Regions from separate parts of the Homo sapiens genome. Here regions 1 and 2 are each linked to region 3. Evidence: promoter capture Hi-C in 16 types of primary human blood cells and fetal thymus (Javierre and others, 2016). All regions are on one chromosome and are shown on one strand. Each heading gives the region's core, a stretch centred on a gene start or on the middle of the fragment in contact. The rest is flanking DNA. Distances are from core to core; before and after follow the strand shown.

Region 1 (3,627 bases), core at 11-2,510, 240 kb before region 3:
CTCCAGGAACCTTGAAAGGAAGGGCCACATTATGACTCCTGAGCCCTGGGCACTTCTGTCTTTGTGGGCTCCTCCTTCACTTAAAAAAATATTAAAAATCATATTTTACAACTGCATCAGTGTAAGGAAGAATATAATATAATATAATTAATATTTATAATTAGTAATTGAATGGCATAACAACCTTAATATTTCTTTGACCTAAAATTTTGTTTCTTTTCCTTCTTCTAATTATAAAAGAAATGAAAATTATTTAAAACATTTTCATGGGCCTTTCGAAGCATTGTGGGCCCAGGGCACTGTGCCTGTTGTGCCTAGTGCATAAGTCAGCCCTATTCGAAGTAGGGCAGAGTGGAACTGTGCCTTGTGGGCTTTGCCCACCGTGCCAGGTAAAGCTCATCTCTTGCCACCAAATGATCACACCAGCTACCGCCTAGGTTGTCCTCACCCTGTATTAGACACTTAGCATTTTTCTTTATTTTATTTTAAAAATAATTTTTTGTAGAAATAAGGTCTTACTGTGTTGCCCAGTCTGGTCTCAAACTCCTGGCCTCAGGTGATCCTCCCATCTCAGCCTCCCAAAGCAGCATTTTTCATTGCACTTATTCCTCACCACAACCCAATGAAACAAGTTTTAGTCTCATTTTACGGAAGGAAAAACTGAAGTTCAGGGGAGTTAAGGAATTTTCTTTTCTTTTTTTTTTTTTGAGATGGAATTTCCCACTTGTCACCCAGGCTGGAGTGTAGTGGTGCAATCTCGGCTAACTGCAACCTCTGCCTCCCGGGTTCAAGCAATTTTCCTGCCTCAGCCTCCCGAGTAGCTGGGACTATAGGCGCCCACCACTATGCCCAGCTAATTTTTGTATTTTTAGTAGAGACAGGGTTTCACCATGTTGGCCAGACTGGTCTCGAACTTCTGATCTCAAGTGATTCACTCACCCCGACCTCCCAAAGTGCCGGGATTACAGGCATGAGTCACCGTTAAATTTTCAAAGATTAAAAAAATTTCCCAAGGTCACACAGCTAGTAATGGCAGAGGCAGGATTTTGCGCCAAGTCTGATTTACTGCAAGCCTGTGTTCTTTCTGTCATGGTGTACTGCTCCCAAGGTCTCACTCCACCCAACTGGCTGGTGCACATGAAAGAGAAGGCAGAAGAAAGGGGGCCGAGTCCCAGGGTGGCTTCCCATGGAAAGAACTCGGGGAGCCGCCCTCTGCTGGGCAGGTCTAGAGCAAATAAGTAGGCTGGCAGACTTAGGTGGCAAAAGATCTGATGCCTCAGTGATAAGAGATTTAGCTCAAGCTGGGAACAAGGACCACAAAGAAGCCAGCCAGTATCTGGGTTAACAAAAAAAAGAGTAAGTGAACAGAATAGATCTTGAAGGTCATTTGCTATTGGTTAGGACTTGGGTGGGGCCTTCAATCTTATGAACCTGAGCAGGGAAGGTTTGGAAAGACTGTAGTGCTATTTAATAATTATTCCTTTGTTTGGACAAAAAAATGGGGTAGAAACGGGAGAGAATGGGGGAAAAGCTATAAGCCATTTCCTCCTTTTATGCCAGCTTTCCTGAACTTAGTTTATTTTGTTGTTGTTTGTCCTTTTTTTCTTTTTTTGAGACAGGGCCTCAGTTTCACCCAGGCTGTAGAGCAGTGGCTCAATCACAGCTCACTGCAGCCTCAACCTTCCCAGACTCAGGTGATCCTCCCACCTCAGCCTCCCAAGTAGCTGGGATCACAGGTGCGTGCCACCATGCCCAGTTAATTTTTGTATTTTTTGTAGAGACAGGGTTTTGCCATGTTGCCCAGGTTGGTCTTGAACTCCTGGACTCAAGTGATCCTCTGGCCTCAGCCTCCCAAATTGCTGGGATTATAGGTGTAAGCCACCTTGCCAAGCATGTTCTTTTATTTGAAAGGTAATACATGCCCCTCAGAGAACAGCTTTCTAGACCTTTTCTATGTACAAACATATATATGCATATTTATAGGGTTTTTTAAAGTTACTTAAAAAAAAATACACAGAGAGACAGGGGTCTCGCTATGTTGCCCAGGCTGGACTCAAACTTCTGGCCTCAAGCAATCCTCCCACCTCAGCCTCCAAAAGTGCTGGGATTATGGGTGTAAGCCACTGCACTCTGCCAATTTACTTTTTTTTTTTTTTTTAAACAAAGATGCAGTCCTACTACATATACCACCTGGCAGTTTGCTTTTTTCATCTAACCATGTATCCTGTCCCAGTAATATTGTAGATCTCATATTCGTTTTAGCAACTGTTTCCACAATGGATGGCCTGTAATTTATTTCATCATTCCTCTCCAGATAGACATTCTAAGTATGTCTGGATTTTTTATTTTAAAATTTGATTTTAATGAGAATTCTAATAGAACACTTTCCATTTATAAAAATTCAAAAATTAAGGCTGAGAGGGGTTCTGATGCTCAGCTAGTTCAACTAACCATTCTGTCCTAGAATTCTCTCTCCAAGATGCTACGTAGCTTTTGTCCAGTTTTGCTCTTCCTTCTGTTGGGGAGACATCTGTCTTTCCCAGTTTCTGCTGTTAGTTCTCTTGTACAGGTCATGCCTTGGCATATTAGAAGACAGAATTCAAGCTCTAGGCTCCCTTTTTTTTCTCTGGGCTTTCTCTTGCAAGCTTTCCTTATCTGACATGGTTTGCCTGCTCACTTCAAAATTGTGACACCCAGGCCGGGTGTGGTGGCTCATGCCTGTAATCCCAGCACTTTGGGAGGCCGAGGTGGGCAAATCACAAGGTCAAGAGTTCGAGACCAGCCTGGCCAACATGGTGAAACCCTGTGTTTACTAAAAATACAAAAAATTAGCTGGGCATAGTGGCGGGTGCCTGTAATCCCAGCTACTTGGGAGGCTGAGGCAGGAGAATCGCTTGAACCTGGGAGGCGGAGGTTGCAGTGAGCCAAGATTGAGCCACTGCACTCCAGCCCAGGTGACAGAGTGAGACTCCGTCTCAGAAAAAAAAAAAAAAAAAAATTAAGGCTGGGCACGGTGGCTCACACCTGTAATTCTAGCACTTTGGGAGGCCAAGGTAGGTGTATCACGAGATCAGGAGTTCGAGACCAGCCTGACCAACATGGTGAAACCCCCTCTCTACTAAAAATACTGTAATCCCAGCACTTTGGGAGGCTGAGGCGGGTGGATCACGAAGTCAGGAGATCGAGACCATCCTGGCTAACATGGTGAAACCCCGTCTCTACTAAAAATACAAAAAAATCAGCTGGGCGTGGTGGTGGGCGCCTGTAGTCCCAGCTACTCGGGAGGCTGAGGCAGGAGAATCGCTTGAACCCAGGAGGCAGAGGTTGCAGTGAGCCGAGATCACGCCGCTGCACTCCAGCCTGGGCCAGAGAATGAGACTCCGTCTCAAAAAAAAAAAAAAAAAAAAAAAATTGGCCGGGCGCGGTGGCTCACGCCTGTAATCCCAGCATTTTGGGAGGCCAAGACGGGTGGATCACGAGGTCAGGAGATTGAGACCATCCTGGCTAACACGGTGAAACCCTGTCTCTACTAAAAAAATACAAAAAATTAGCCGGGCGTGGTGGCGGGCACCTGTAGTCCCAACTACTCAGGAGGCTGAGGCAGGAGAATGGCGTGAACCTGGGAGG
Region 2 (3,302 bases), core at 392-2,891, 240 kb after region 3:
GCATTGTTTTACATTTCTGCAAATTTCCTTAATATCTGGCTTAATAGAAAACAGCTGAAATCAGCCGGGTGCAGTGGCTCATGCCTGTAATCCCAGCACTTTGGGAGGCCAAGGTGGGTGGATCACTTGACGTCAGGAGTTCAAGACCAGCCTGGTCAATATGGTGAAACCCCACCTCTACTAAAAATACACAAATTAGCTGGTCGTGGCAGTGGGCACCTGTATTCCCAGCTACTCGGGAGGGTGAGGCAGGAGAATCACTTGAACCCAAGAGGCAGAGGTTGCAGTGAGCCAAGATCGCACCACTGCACTCCAGTCTGGGCGACAGAGCAAGACTCCGTCTCAAAAAAAAAAAAAAAAAAAAGGCTGGCCACAGTGGCTCACACCTATAATCCCAGCACTTTGGGATGCTGAGGATCACTTGAGCCCAGGAGTTTGACACCAGCCTGGGCAACATAGTGAGACTCTGTCTCTACTAAAAAAAAAAAAAAAAAAAAGGCCGGGTGTGGTGGCTCAGGCCTGTAATCCTAGCACTTTGGAAGGCTGAGGCGGGTGGATCACGAGGTCAGGAGATCAAGACCATCCTGGCTAACACGATGAAACCCTGTCTCTAGTAAAAATACAAAAAATTAGCCGGGCGTGGTGGCGGGCGCCTGTAGTCCCAGCTACTCGGGAGGCTGAGGCAGGAGAATGGCGTGAACCTGGAAGGCGGAGGTTGCAGTGAGCCGAGATCGCGCCACTGCACTCCAGCCTGGGCGACAGAGCGAGACACTGTCTCAAAAAACAAACAAACAAATAAACAAACAAACAAAAAAAACAGAAAAAGAAAACAGCTGAAATCTCTTATCTGATTCTACATTAATTATGTTATCATACATTGTTTTGGTTGAATTATATGAAGAAAATCTGCCCTCACATAGATATGCAATTAGAAAAGATGTGTAGTGTTTTAAAAGCCTTTTCATTTCATTGTATTCTTTGATACAGCAGCAAAACTCAGCAAGTTATAGTTTCTTAAAGGTTATTTGCCATGTACAGTCTGAACTTTGTGTATTGTTAACATTAAAATCCGTTAGTCTCATCTTGCACTTTAAATGGCTCTTACACTCATGCATGATTTTTTTTTTTTTTTTTTTGGAGATAGGGTCTCACTCTGTCACCCAGGCTGGAGTGCAGTGGCATGATTATAGCTCACTGCTGCCTTGAACTCCTGGGCTCAAACAATCCTCCTGCTTCAGCCAAGTAGCTGTTACTACAGGTGTTGTAGTGCCACCACACCCAGCTAATTTTTAAAATTTTTTGGCCGGGCACGGTGGCTCACGCCTGTAATCCCAGCATTTTGGGAGGCTGAGGTGGGTGGATCACCTGAGGTCAGGAGTTTGAGACCAGTCTGGCCAACAGGTGAAACCCCGTCTCTACCAAAAATACAAAAAATTAGCTGGGTGTGGTGGTGGGCGCCTGTAATCCCAGCTACTCGGGAGGCTGAAGCAGGAGAATCGTTTGAACCCGGGAGGCGGAGGTTGTAGTGACCCGAGATCGTACCACTGCACTCCAGCCTGAGCGACAGAGCGAAACCCTGCCTTGAAAAACAAAAACAAAAACAAAGAAAACAACTCTAAATACAGTTAGGCCTCTTTATTCATGGGTTCTGCATCCATGAGTTTCACATCTGTGGATTCAACCAACCACAGATTGAAAATATTCAGGAAAAAAAATTTCTCTATACTGAACATGTACCGACTGTTTTTCTTGTCATATAGTATAACTATTCACATAGCATTTACATAGTATTAGGTATTAAAAGTAATCTAGAAATGATTTAAAGTATACAGGAAAATATGTAGGTTATATATAAATACCATGCCGTTTTCTATCAGGGGCTTTAAGCATCACAGATCTTGGTATCTGTGGACGTCCTGGAACCAGTCTCCCACAGATACTGAGAGATGACTATATACTTCGTTTAAAAGAAAATAAAACTAAATGATCTTGACAAGATATTTAAAGTCCACCTTCTTTTCTTATATTTTAACATTTTATACAGTCTTTTTTGCTTGTTTTTCTATTTTATTTTTTATTTATTTATTTTTATGATATGGAGTCTCGTTCTATTGCCCAGGCTGGAGTGCAGTGGCATAGTCTGTGCTCACTGCAACCTCCACCTCCCAGGCTCAAGCGATTCTCCTGCCTCAGCCTCCCGAGCAGCTGGGATTACAGGCAACCGCCACTGCACCTGGCTAATTTTTGATTTTTATTAGAGACAGGGTTTCGCCATGTTGGTCAGGCTAGTCTTGAACTCTTGACCTCGTGATCCGCCCGCCCTGACTTCCCAAAGTGCTAGGATTACAGGCGTGAGCCACTGCGCCTGGCCTTTGCTTGTTTTGTTTTTTTTTTTTTTTAACATTAATGCCAGGTCTGGTGGCTCACACCTGTAATCCCAGCATTTTGGGAGGCCAAGGTGGGTGGGTTACCTGCGGTCAGGAGTTCGAGACCAGCCTGGCCAACATGGTAAAACCCCATCTCTACTAAAAATACAAAAAATAGCCAGGCGTGGTGGCAGATGCCTGTAGTCCCAGCTACTTGGGAGGCTGCGGTAGGAGAATTGTTTGAACCCAGGAGGTGGAGGTTGCAGTGAGCCGAGATCATGCCACTGCACTCCAGCCTGGGCAACTAGAGCAAAAATCTGCCTCGAAAAAAAAAACCCAAAAAACAAAAACCAAAATAAAACACATTAATAATCAGTCTGAAACGAGATTAATCTGCATATAAAATATTCCTAACAAGCTCAGTATTTTGGCCAGTCCCTCCCTTACCTGTTGAGCAATATGAGAAATGTGAGCTCCCTGAACTGCTGAACCAGGTTGAGGTGCTGTCTCTGACGTGGTACTCTTGTGGGAATCTTCCATAATCAACTATAAGGGGGAAAAAAGTCCGTTAAAATTAAATATGATACAGAATGTTTACAGTATACTATAGAATCATATAAAAATTGATCATTTAGTTGCCTCAATGGAAAAGAACTGGTAGCAATGGTATAGAGATAGAAAGGGGACTGTGCATTTTCTTTAAATTTTTTGAATTTTGGCCCACAAAAACATGTTTAAGTTTAATAAAAGGCACATATAAACATAAATTATGATGACTAAGTTTGCAAACGTTATCCCATTGAAGAATGATGACAGTCCTCCTGTCTATGGACACAAACATATCTGTCTCTAGTCTAGGGAAGTTTCTAAGTGTACATATAGTTTTTTATATAGAGAATTTACTGAGTAAAAGTTGAACAAATAAATAAAACTATA
Region 3 (3,473 bases), core at 882-3,381:
AATGGTACAGAGATGAAATCTTAGAATAAAATTTTTGAACTCAATAAATTGTTAATTAATATCTAGGAGTGGCAGATATATAATGCTTCTCTTTTCACGACAGGTCAAAGATGAAATCTGATTAGGCTTTGGAGGGCGTGGTTTGCCTCTTGAAATTCCTTGCTCGTCTTTAGAAAGCTGTGTTGCTTAGAGCACCCAAAAGTGCCCTTTATCTAACTGAGGGAGGCGCACTTGTCTTCATATATAGAGGCAGGAGCTGGCATTGGGAAAGTCAAACTAGTTCTGCACCATGAGGAAGAAGCAGCTGAAGACGGAGGCAGCTCCACACTGTGAACTAAGTAAGTAGCCCAGGGAAGCTGCCCAGCTGAGCAGACCTGAAAGGGTGACAAGTACAGCTCTAGCAATTTTATTTTCTAGTTATAATAGAAGTTGCCAAAGGAAAGGTTCCGATCTGGAGGAACTTCATCAAACCTTTCTGAAACTCCACAGATGTACTGTAGCGAGAATCTCAGAACTAATTTGTGCATTTTCTTTTTTCTCCAGGAGAAATTCTGTATGAAAACCAACCTGCTCCAGGAAGCCAAGCCCCCCCCCCCCACTTTTTTTTGGTCCCCGAGTTTGTTTTTACTTCGCACTTTATTTGGATTTTTCTCTTTGCAGTTCACGCTCCTTTCCTCATTTCTTGGTCTCTCTTACTAATGAAATTTTCTCCTAGCTGTTTTTACGTGAATAAAGAAGCTCAATTACCTTTAATGCTGTAAGCAGTGCGAGGGGTCGGGGAGTGAGGGTGGCGGGAGGATCTAATGTTTTTGGTGGCTGTAAACGACATTGCAGAAAATTACGGTAATTTGTTAGGCCATTTATTCCCTCTTCACCAGTTTGGCAGTCTCATCTTCAGAGCAAAAGATACGGTGTGAGGCTGAAACTGGCGATAGAGTGGGATTGCTTTTGGGTAGGTAGGATGAAGTCTGGGGAGAATCGAGTCAGCTGGGCGAGGAGGAAAACAATTCACTACGGAGGCTTGGGAGGACACCTAAGGCGGTCAAACTGGCTGCACTAGCTGATGTTTCTCGGTTCCTCCCAGGTGTGGGGTGCTCTTGGTGGGGCAGCAGATACTATGATGTGGCTCTGGGGGCGCGAGGAAATGTTCCTTCCAGGTGGCTATCCTTTTTTTTTGAGACAGGGTTTTGCTCTGCCACCCAGGCTGGAGTGCAGTGGCACGATCTTGTCTCACCGCAGCCTCCACCTCCCAGGCCCAAGTGATTCTCCCACCTCAGCCCCCGAGTAGCTGGGACCACAGGCGGGCGCCGTGATGCCTGGCTAATTTTTTTTTTTTTTTAGACGGAGTTTTCGCTCTTGTTTCCAAGGCTGGAGTGCAATGGCGCGATCTCGGCTCACTGCACCTCCGCCTCCCGGGTTCAAGCGATTCTCTTGCCTCAGCCTCCCGAGTAGCTGGGATTACAGGCATGCGCCACCACGCCCGGCTAATTTTGTATTTTTAGTAAAGACGGGGTTTCTCCATGTTGGTCAGGCTGGTCTCAAACTCCCGATCTCAGGTGATTCGCCCGCCTGGGCCCTCCAAAGTGCTGGGAGTACAGGCGTGAGCCACCGCGCCCGGCCTTTGCTTGGCTAATTTTAAAATTTTTTGTAGAGACCGGGTCTCACTATGTTGCCCAGGCTGGTATCGAACTCCTGGACTCAAGTGATCCTCCCGCCTCGGTCTCCCAAAGTGCTGGGCATTACAAGTGTGAGCCTCCGCGCCTGGCCTGGCTACCCTTTACAGGATAGAGCTATACCTCGTAGCTTGATTGTCAGTACCTAACGTGGCGCCACGGCGAACTAGGGCAGGAATCTTATCTGTCCCCAGACTGCTAGCGGACTGGAGCTCCCCAGTCCAGGGGCTGTGTGGGTCTGGCCAACGCAAGCAGCAACTAGGCAGCATGCAGCTCCCGCCGGGTGCCCCAGGGGCCGCCGCGTGCCCCAGGGGCCGCCGCATCCAGACTCCGCGTGGGCGGAGCCTAGGTCCCTGGTCTGCGGGCCACGCATCCCGGCCGCTGCAGGGACTCCAGCCAATAGGGATGTGCGGCTGCCGTCCTGTCGACCAATCGCGGGGAGGGGAGGGCGTTAGCCAGCGTGGCGCTGGCTCCCGGAATATGGAGCCCTGGGCGCGGGGGCGGCGTGTCAGGTGGTTGCGGAGCTGGTAAGGTGAGGGGAAGGCAAGGTCAGGGGTCACGGCATTCCGCTCGCTGGCAGGGAGGGGCGCGGGGCGGCTCGAGGGCCTGTGTCGGGGGTCAGGCTCCGGGGCTAGGATGCGACACCGGCTCGCCGTGCGGGGCTGTGAGGGGAGGTGTGGCCAGGGAGGGCCTCAGGCCCAGAGTCCAGGACTGATGGAGTCGCGCCATTCAGAGAAAGACCCAAAGATGGGGGCAGGGAGGGAACGCCGGAGGTCGCGGGGGTCTCGCCCCTTCCCCGCCGCGGCCTAGGACACATGGCCCAGCTCCCAGCTGCACCGGATGGCGCGCCCGGCCTGTGTCGGGGTGCGCTGACCTGCTTCGACGCCTCGAAAGAGGCCGACGGGCACAGGGCAAGGTCTTTCGTGGCCTCTTCGTCGGCGCCGCAGGGGGCCGGGCTGCTCTCCGGGGCCTCCCGCCGCCCCGCTTCAACAAAAGACTCATTATAACCTAACCGACTTCAGGGAGCGCCTTCTGTGTGAATAGCCTGCATACGCGGCTCAGTAATTGTGGGTAGATTGGTTTTAAGGCTGTTTGTGTAGCTCTCAGGGACCCTCTGGATTCCAGGCTCCAATGAGCAGGGTTTTTCTACAGGGGGATATTGCACATATGTAAGTGGGCTGGATGGCTCTCCCAGCTGTGCGTTTCATGTGTCCCCACTTTTAAAGCTACCGCTTAAATGTGACATCTCTTGCAAAAGCAAAAATTATATGGAAGGAGAGTTTGCAAGGGGAGATAGGCTTCTAAAAACTTGCTGGCCTCAATTTTAGTGACTGTTGGTGAAAAATGGAGAAGCTATGTTTACACTGACTTCTGGAACCCGAAGCCCCACCAGTTCGCATGATTTCTTGGCTTTGTAAATCTTTGAGCATGTTGTTTGCCTCTTTCTTCTTTTGTTCCACGTACTTAAAATGGGGATTGATAATATCAGTCTTACAGGGTTGTTGGTATGAAATTAGTTAATAAACAACAAAGTACTTAGAACTCTTGATGTGGAGGAGTTTTTGTTGTTGTTACCTTCTTTCCCCTTAACACTTCTAAAGAATTCTAACCTTATTACTTATTCTTTGCTCAGAGTCTCATGACTTATCACCAGTGAACCCGCCGGCCTATACTTTCCATTGACATCATTAACTTTGATCTGAGGGTATAGTGTAGTTATATGTGACTAGAGGATTTCTGCTGCGTGTTTGTTTTATTAAATACGGTTGGAAACTATCATTATACTAGGTCATTTATTGT

What was found. The method cuts DNA at HindIII sites, captures the fragments that hold promoters and counts their contacts. A CHiCAGO score of 5 or more calls a contact.
Region 1: a contact is called between a fragment that was not itself captured here and the fragment with the promoter of SLC11A2 in region 3, in 1 of 17 cell types (megakaryocytes). The highest score is 5.6, in megakaryocytes.
Region 2: a fragment that was not itself captured here is called in contact with the fragment with the promoter of SLC11A2 in region 3 in 3 of 17 cell types (megakaryocytes, M1 macrophages and erythroblasts); the score reaches 7.6 in megakaryocytes.

Annotation. Positions count from the first base shown.
Region 1 is chr12:51,260,464-51,264,090 of GRCh38, reverse strand. All of the region lies in intron 2 of SMAGP (small cell adhesion glycoprotein), which reads left to right. Among named protein-coding and RNA genes, the nearest start is that of SMAGP, 8.1 kb to the left of the region's middle. The HindIII fragment of the contact is 2,774 bases long and covers 1-2,647 here.
Region 2 is chr12:50,779,750-50,783,051 of GRCh38, reverse strand. ATF1 (activating transcription factor 1) reads right to left here. Exons shown (of 7, transcript NM_005171.5): 2 at 2,814-2,912. The coding sequence starts at 2,906. Among named protein-coding and RNA genes, the nearest start is that of ATF1, 17 kb to the right of the region's middle. The HindIII fragment of the contact is 3,767 bases long and covers 1-3,302 here.
Region 3 is chr12:51,025,042-51,028,514 of GRCh38, reverse strand. It overlaps SLC11A2 (solute carrier family 11 member 2), which reads left to right and starts at 2,131. Exons shown (of 16, transcript NM_000617.3): 1 at 2,131-2,205. RefSeq lists silencers at 1,751-2,470, 2,481-2,540 and enhancers at 1,946-2,557, 2,558-3,171. The HindIII fragment of the contact is 11,669 bases long and covers 1-3,473 here.